3 separate regions of the Homo sapiens genome follow, and all the other regions are linked to region 1. Evidence: promoter capture Hi-C in human tissues and cell types (Jung and others, 2019). All regions are on one chromosome and are shown on one strand. Each heading gives the region's core, a stretch centred on a gene start or on the middle of the fragment in contact. The rest is flanking DNA. Distances are from core to core; before and after follow the strand shown.

The links. Contacts are between HindIII fragments. The study calls those that stand out against the background at their distance.
Region 2: a fragment that was not itself captured here is called in contact with the fragment with the promoter of KRT6A in region 1 in 2 of the 25 tissues and cell types used here (liver and pancreas).
Region 3: a fragment that was not itself captured here is called in contact with the fragment with the promoter of KRT6A in region 1 in 2 of the 25 tissues and cell types used here (bladder and heart right ventricle).

What each region holds. Positions count from the first base shown.
Region 1 is chr12:52,491,855-52,494,554 of GRCh38, reverse strand. It overlaps KRT6A (keratin 6A), which reads left to right and starts at 1,298. Exons shown (of 9, transcript NM_005554.4): 1 at 1,298-1,906. The coding sequence starts at 1,367. The HindIII fragment of the contact is 9,834 bases long and covers 1-2,700 here.
Region 2 is chr12:52,426,327-52,429,026 of GRCh38, reverse strand. KRT75 (keratin 75) reads left to right here. Exons shown (of 9, transcript NM_004693.3): 6 at 284-409; 7 at 551-771; 8 at 2,176-2,210. Among named protein-coding and RNA genes, the nearest start is that of KRT75, 6.7 kb to the left of the region's middle. The HindIII fragment of the contact is 7,225 bases long and covers 1-2,700 here.
Region 3 is chr12:52,591,045-52,593,744 of GRCh38, reverse strand. KRT72 (keratin 72) reads left to right here. Exons shown (of 9, transcript NM_080747.3): 3 at 793-853; 4 at 1,254-1,349; 5 at 2,117-2,281. Among named protein-coding and RNA genes, the nearest start is that of KRT72, 9.1 kb to the left of the region's middle. The HindIII fragment of the contact is 4,708 bases long and covers 1-2,700 here.

The DNA.
Region 1 (2,700 bases), core at 49-2,548:
CTTTCCTGAGGCTCTTCTTAGCATGGGAGTTTGTTCTTCCTCCTGCGGTTGCTCATTTATCCATAGGTTCTCACAGAACAATATTGCCCAGGATTGCTCTCCATTCTCCTCATGCACAGTGCTTAATGCATGGACTGGAGAAGTGAAGCTCATTCCTCTGTAAACCAAGCACACTCACCTTTGTCAGCCTGCCCACCCTCCCAGAAGGTGTATATGGATTTGAGATTTCAAGCACTGAGATCAGAAATTAAAATGTGGAATTGACATGTTACATCATCACACTTGTAAGGGCACAATTTTATGATTCACAGCTTCCATATGCCCCTTGACTTTCCCTACACACCCAATTAAACTGTCTGACTCTTGATTCTTAAGAAATGTCAAAATCTGTGGGAATAAAAATCCAGTGAATTCCTTAATGATTTTTATATCACTCATTTTCCGTTGTTTAAATTAAGCTCTATGTAAATGCTCCAAAACAGCAGGGAGAAGGTGTCTATAAATTTCAACTGGAAAGGCAGATTTACATGAGACTAAGCTCAATAGGAAAGCAAGCACTGGAGAGAGAGGTGCAGATATGGAAAGAAACTCCTGGCAGAAGTCAGGTCTCTGAGCACCCTGGGCAATGTCTGCTCCCTTCATTTTAGGTAAACGGCATGTGGGCAGGTGATCACACAGTACACAGAACAAATGTTGCTCCTACAGTGTAAAGACTCAACTCCTCTGTCCCTCTTGCCTGACAAAGGAGGGTTAGATCCCCAAAGCAGACCCCGTTCCTATGTCCAGGACACAAGGGAGGACAGCCAGGAGCTCCAGAAGAACTGGTCCAAATGCAGTGGAAAAAACACAACAGGCTACTTCTTGCTCAGGCCATCGGGCAAATGCCCATACGCCCTCAGGAAGGATCCCACTCAGAGGGTGAGGCTGGTGCAAGTGGAGTAGAAAACCTGTGTGGGAAGGGGGCACACAGGGAGTGTCTGATGAAGAAGAAGGAGGGGACAATTATCACAGATCAGCTCCTTGTCTCCTTTGTTTGAGGACATGACTAACTCATGACTTCAGTGAATGTATACCCGGGCTTATTGTGTTAGGATCAAGTCAAGGCTGGAAGGCAGGAGAATTTCTCTATGACTAAAGGAAGCCAAAAAGCAATCTTCATATTTCATACCTTTCTAGAAACTGGGTGTGATCTCACTGTTGGTAAAGCCCAGCCCTTCCCAACCTGCAAGCTCACCTTCCAGGACTGGGCCCAGCCCATGCTCTCCATATATAAGCTGCTGCCCCGAGCCTGATTCCTAGTCCTGCTTCTCTTCCCTCTCTCCTCCAGCCTCTCACACTCTCCTCAGCTCTCTCATCTCCTGGAACCATGGCCAGCACATCCACCACCATCAGGAGCCACAGCAGCAGCCGCCGGGGTTTCAGTGCCAACTCAGCCAGGCTCCCTGGGGTCAGCCGCTCTGGCTTCAGCAGCGTCTCCGTGTCCCGCTCCAGGGGCAGTGGTGGCCTGGGTGGTGCATGTGGAGGAGCTGGCTTTGGCAGCCGCAGTCTGTATGGCCTGGGGGGCTCCAAGAGGATCTCCATTGGAGGGGGCAGCTGTGCCATCAGTGGCGGCTATGGCAGCAGAGCCGGAGGCAGCTATGGCTTTGGTGGCGCCGGGAGTGGATTTGGTTTCGGTGGTGGAGCCGGCATTGGCTTTGGTCTGGGTGGTGGAGCCGGCCTTGCTGGTGGCTTTGGGGGCCCTGGCTTCCCTGTGTGCCCCCCTGGAGGCATCCAAGAGGTCACCGTCAACCAGAGTCTCCTGACTCCCCTCAACCTGCAAATCGATCCCACCATCCAGCGGGTGCGGGCTGAGGAGCGTGAACAGATCAAGACCCTCAACAACAAGTTTGCCTCCTTCATCGACAAGGTGAGCCAGTGCCATGCCCTCCATGGGGCACTTCAGGGTCCCCAGACCAGAGGAGCAACACCTTCCTGCCAGGGAGACCTAGGAGGGAGGGAGAAGAGGACTCAGCCCAGCTCTGCAGAGAGTGCAGATGGCTGCTGGTGCCCAGCAAGCAGCAGGGATGGGCATCACTCCCCCATGGGATCTCTGGAGTGGCCCTCACTCCTGCCTAGGGAGAACCATAACTTTTCATAACCCTGAAGCACAGATGAGGCCATCAGAGAATGGAGTAGGTTAACTCTTCCCTTTGAAGCGTCAAAGAAAATGCCAGGAGTACACGGGCTGGTAAATTACACTCTGGGGTCTGGATAAGAGGAAAAAATATTGGAAACAAAAGAAAGGATATTTTGGCTAGATTAAGAAAAAAAAGACTTAAAACGTTTATACGTTATGTGGAAATGTTAATTAATCCTCAAAACAAAGAATGACCATAACATCAGGATGTTTTAGAGGAGAGACTTGCACAAATGGGAAATAAGACGGGAATCAAATCATTGGGCAACATTTAACATCTCTTCTAACTGAGGTCCTATCAGTAATAAAAACTGTGTAAAATTTATCAGATGAATACTATTTTATAACTATGTTTGTAATTTTGGCTGGGAAAAGAAGGAAAAGACATGTTGAAACTCATTAATATGTCCAATAACTTAGAGAGTGAGAACACCTGAATGGTCCGTGGGACAATTCCTCTAGTGAGATTGGTGGGGTACAAAGGAGAAGGGGTTGGGGGAGCAGAGCTCAGCCTGAGCCTCTCT
Region 2 (2,700 bases), core at 98-2,597, 66 kb after region 1:
ACCACTTCCCACTTCCAAATCTAGGTCAGATTCCTTCATTACACTCTCCCAGGACCCTGTTCATTTCCTAAGGGCACTTATCTTAGTGTGGAACTATACATTTGATAATATGCTAATTCAGTTAATGTCTATGTCCCCCAATAAACTGTAAGCTTCAGGGGGAATGAGTGAATGACCAGGAATGAATGAGCCTGCTTGTGGCACCCAGGGTGGGTCTGTGTGCACAGCGAGTGCCTGGGCCAGGCATTTGACTCAGTGACTGGGTTTGCTCTGGTTCTCTCAGTACGAGGAGCTGCAGGTCACCGCAGGCAGACATGGGGATGACCTTCGAAACACCAAACAAGAGATCTCTGAAATGAACCGCATGATCCAGAGGCTGAGAGCTGAGATTGACAGCGTCAAGAAGCAGGTAAAGATTTGGCAGGGCCAAGAGCTCCTCAAATGCTCATTTCTTCTGGGCCTTTCTGCCATCTTTAAGAACTCCTCCCCAAGAAGCACCACACCTCCATGGGCTGTCAGCAGGACTCATGGCTTCCTCCTGTCCTTACAGTGTTCCAGCTTGCAAACGGCCATTGCTGATGCAGAGCAGCGGGGAGAACTGGCTCTCAAGGATGCACGGGCCAAGCTGGTGGACCTTGAGGAGGCCCTGCAGAAGGCCAAGCAGGACATGGCTCGGCTCCTGCGTGAGTACCAGGAGCTGATGAACATCAAGCTGGCCCTGGACGTGGAGATCGCCACCTACCGCAAGCTGCTGGAAGGCGAGGAGTGCAGGTGAGGCAGATGCACCAACTTCATCCTCAAAGCAAGTTGAGCTCACCTCAGCTTCCTGGGCATTCCTAGGGGCTCGGGCTGTTGCAGCCCCTTCTTCTCCTGGAAGAAAATGCAGTTCAGAATTGGGCTATGGCAAAAAAATAATTTTAATTTCCTTCCAGGCTAGTAAATCATTTGAGGTGCAACTACAGTTAGCATCCCCATAGAAACCTAAAACCTGATCAGGTCTAAGTAACTGAATTCTACCAAAGGAGACATTTGGTTACATGGCAGCTCTCGAAATGTGGTCTAAAAGGCCATGGGCTGAGAACAAACAGTCCTAGGATTTGGGCTTACAGATCTAACACTAAGTAGCTACATAACCTTGGGAAAGTCAGTCTCCCTTCTCTGGCCCTCAATTTCTTCAATGATAAAATGAAAAGGTCAGATTACATGATCCGCAAAGCTTCATGGGAGCTTTGTGCTCTGCCAGTTAGGAGCTGTGTAGCCAAGAGCAGATACTTAACCTCTCCACCTCTCAGTGTTCTCATCCAATAAAATGTGAATAACAATAGTTCTAAACTCTCACATTATTAAAAGGGTTAAAATAAGGGAATACACACAAAGCTCTTAGAACAATGCATGGTACACAGCGTGTTCGATAAATGTTAGCTATCATTCAGTTTCATGGCCAAAGACATAGGCTTTGGTGTCAGATGAATCTGTCTTCAAGTCCAGCTTTGCGACTATGGGCAAGTTAGTTAACTTGTCTGAGCTTCCATTTCTCCCTCTATAAAAGTGAGCAAATAATACCTACCTCATGGGGTTGTTGAGAGAACTAAGTGGTGTGATATAAGTAACAGGTAATCAACAGCTGTTACCTCTTGTTAAGTTTCTCAGTATGTGTTTATGAATGAATGCCAGTTCTGTCCTGAAGATGCTAAAGCAAAGTTACTTGGTTGCTAAGATAATAATAAACTGATATTACTATTGTTATTTTTATGACTCAGACGCCTCTCCACACCTATATACAATAAGCTCAGCCCTGGCTCAGTGCATGACAATGGTCCCTTGTTGAGAGACAAATCTTATTATAGGACAGGCCCTTCTTTCCAGTTGATGCCAGTATATGATTACTTTTAATTTCCTTAAGGCATCTAACTAGTTTAAACCAAAAATTGTATTTCTGAGATTATAGATTTTGCTCCTGTGAACCTCAAACTCCACCTTATTTTATTCATTAGATTATTAATATTATCTTTAATACTACTAGTTCTCAAATAATTTCAACCTGCATTACTTCTGCAATAAAAATAATAAAGTATGTTTAAATGCTTTGTCAACAATTACAAAAGTGTCATTGCAAAGGCCCTTAAGCTGCTGGCCACATTGGTAACCTTCCTTCTCCCTGCTCTTCCCAATCAGGTTGAGTGGAGAGGGAGTTTCTCCAGTTAACATTTGTGAGTATGACATACTTCTTGGGCCATTTGGAGTGTGTGTGGTAGAGGGGATGGGGATGTGGTGGGCTTGCCAGAGGGTGAAGATATGACGGGTTAGACGGGATCTCACAGACAGCGTTCATTTGGAGAAGGTTTGAGGTTTTGGGTCCCTTAAAAAGCAAGCCATATTAGGAGTCTTTAATGTCACAGTTCTTTCCTCTTTGAGAGTGAGGGTGTCACAGAAGGGGTGATGAGAGGTTTGATGTCATTGTTCTGAGTGGGTTTAAAAGATCCTGGCCACATCTCCTACCTCCCAGAATTCCCTGCCTTTTTGTTGGGGCTGCAAGCCTAGCACAGAGGTGAGCACTTGATGTAGACGGGATTTATGAAAATTCCTGGTCTGGCTTGGACCTTTGAAGGGAGCCTTCATGCTGTGGACAAGAGCATTGCCAACTAGGCAGCTTCTCTCCTAAACAGTTTGAGAAGAAGCTCCACTGCTTGGCTCAACTCT
Region 3 (2,700 bases), core at 72-2,571, 99 kb before region 1:
TTAGCAAAAGGTCCTCAAGGTTCATCCATGTCGTAGCATATTGTAGAATTTTTTTTCTTTCTAAGTCTGAATGATATCCCATTGTATGTATACACCACATTTTGCTTATCCATTTAGCATTAATTATTTCTTACCAATGCTCTATTTCGTTACCATACTCTCACAAATGTCCTGTAATGCATTCTTTGAGAATAATAAGGGATGGAAGAGGTAAGCTCTTTAAATAAAATGGTTAGTACTCTTACCTCCCCAATCAACAATATGTCTGTATTAAGAACATCCCAGTCCTAACCACATTTCTGTGTCTTAGACCTTGCTTCTGTTTCTGCTTCACCTGGAACAGAAATATGTATAAGAAATAGGTATAACATACAGTTTGAAAGTGAGAATGGTGCTTTTGTTTGGTGCCTAGGAGGTTTTTGCACCCTGAGCCATTGCACAGTATTAAGATGCCATGTGCCAGAAGGGAGTGTCTTTTCACCTCTGCTATAATGTGGGAGGGGCTAATTGTGACAGGGAGAGGGACAGTAGAGTCTGCATGACATCTCAACCACAGGTGCTCTCTGAGGCAGGTAGTTTTAAGACAGAATGCACAGGCACAAAGGAGCTGGAAATTGATTCCTTTAACTATGTCCTTGCCTGCATCCTCTTAAGCAAGGTTATGTGTGCCCCAGGGGTATGGGAATCCCAGTTTGAAGACCCCCACCCTGCAGCTCTCAGCACAGAGGTGGTCACTAACTGTTCAGTGAGTGTTTGCAGAACTGAATTACCTCATTGTCTTGCCCCATGCAGGTATGAGGTGGAGATTAACAGACGCACAGCTGCTGAGAATGAGTTTGTGGTGCTCAAGAAGGTAAGAGGGGTGCCAGGTGGGCTGGAAGAAGCCTAGACCTGACCACCTGGCACAATGATGCTTGTAGGGTGAGGAAAGGGGCCCTGTAGGTCACTCAGTCCCTTGGGCAGGGGTGACTGGCACTCTAACTTCCCAGCCCCTCCCTCCAAGTCCCTTGCCTGGGATGCATGCTGTTTCTAGAATTTGCCAGTCTAAAATCTGGGCATTTTACTGCACTACTGGTGTAGCCATTGCACTGCACGTTAGTTGGTTTACTCTCAGGGACTGAAGGGGACTCTCAGGGAGCCCCCCATGAAGCACAGGGTGAAGGGAGAGGAAAGAGCAAGGCTTCCTGTGGCAGGGAGGGAGGGATGGGCAGGGGAGGCCCTCTCAGGGCGGCTTGACTATCATGTGCTCCCAGGACGTGGATGCTGCTTACATGAATAAGGTTGAGCTCCAGGCCAAGGTGGACTCCTTGACAGATGAGATTAAATTCTTCAAGTGCCTTTATGAAGGGGTAAGGACTTGGCTGACCTCTCTTGTGAGATCTGCTCCTTTAACAAGAGGTTTCTGGCCCCTGGCTGGAAGGTGGTGTGGACCAAGAATTGGGAGGGAGAAAGCTTTCAACCTGGTGCCCCTGACATTCACCAAGGCCCTACTGGGTGCTGAACAATGAGCTAGGTTTTGAGGAGTCCGTGAAAGAGAAGAAGTGATTCTTGCCCTCCAGGAGTTCACAGCTTGGCAGGAAAACACCACGTAGCTGAGCTTTCAGAGAGCAGAGGAAGGAATGGTGGGTTCTGCCTGGGCCATCAGTGAAGGTTCTTGGAGAGAGAGGAGAAAGAGGACGATTTCAGTGGGTGCTGAGGGGGGCAGAAAAATAGAAGGTCCAGGAGCCTGTCCTGTGCTAAAGCATGAGGAATGAAGAAGGGCGCAGAGGCCTGGGGAAGGGACTGGTGCTAGTGACTCCCTAGGGGACTTCACATGCTAGGTAAAGAGTTCAGACTTGGTCCTATGGGTGGAGGGTGGCGGTGGCTGGTTTCTGAGGATGAGAATGTAGAAGGGTGCAGGAGTGCTCCTGAGTGTGCAATGGAGAGAGGAGTCTCAGCGTTTGGGGCTGAAAGCCTAAGGCACTTCTTCACGTGCCTGCCAGGCACTGGTGCTGAGGCAGAGTTCAAACGCTGAGGAAAGGCAGAGGGACAGTGAGGAATTTGCCCAGGGAGGACCAAGAGAACTGGTTCCTCATGAGTACCCCTTAACTAGCTCCCCTCCCCCAACCGTCCCCAGGAGATCACTCAGATCCAGTCCCACATCAGCGACACGTCCATCGTCCTGTCAATGGACAACAACCGGGATCTGGACCTGGACAGCATCATTGCCGAGGTCCGTGCCCAGTACGAGGAGATTGCCCTAAAGAGCAAGGCCGAGGCTGAGACCCTGTACCAGACCAAGGTGAGCTGGTGCCAGGTGTGCTGAGTCCCACTGGCCACAGCTAGCACCCTCTCAGTATGTGTGCATGTGTACGTGTGTGTGCGTGTGTTTGTGTGTGTGTGTGTATTTGGGCTCAGTCAAGACCTCCTTTGTCTTGAAGTTGGGCCTTGCGGAAATGCCACCCCAGGGGTAAGGGAGATTAACTACAGTCTTGGCTTGTTTTGCGGACATATATGGGGCTTAGCCCTTCTCCTATCACGGCCCTTGGCTGAGGCCACACCAGCTACAACCCTGATAGGATTCTGACACAGTTTCTATGGGTAATTCACATATATTGTCTTATCTTCATGTTTCCACTTTGGCAAAATGAGGATAGGAAATTCACACTCTGCCAAGGCTCTCATGTTTGAGAACCTGAGGATCTTGTTGAACTAGGGCAG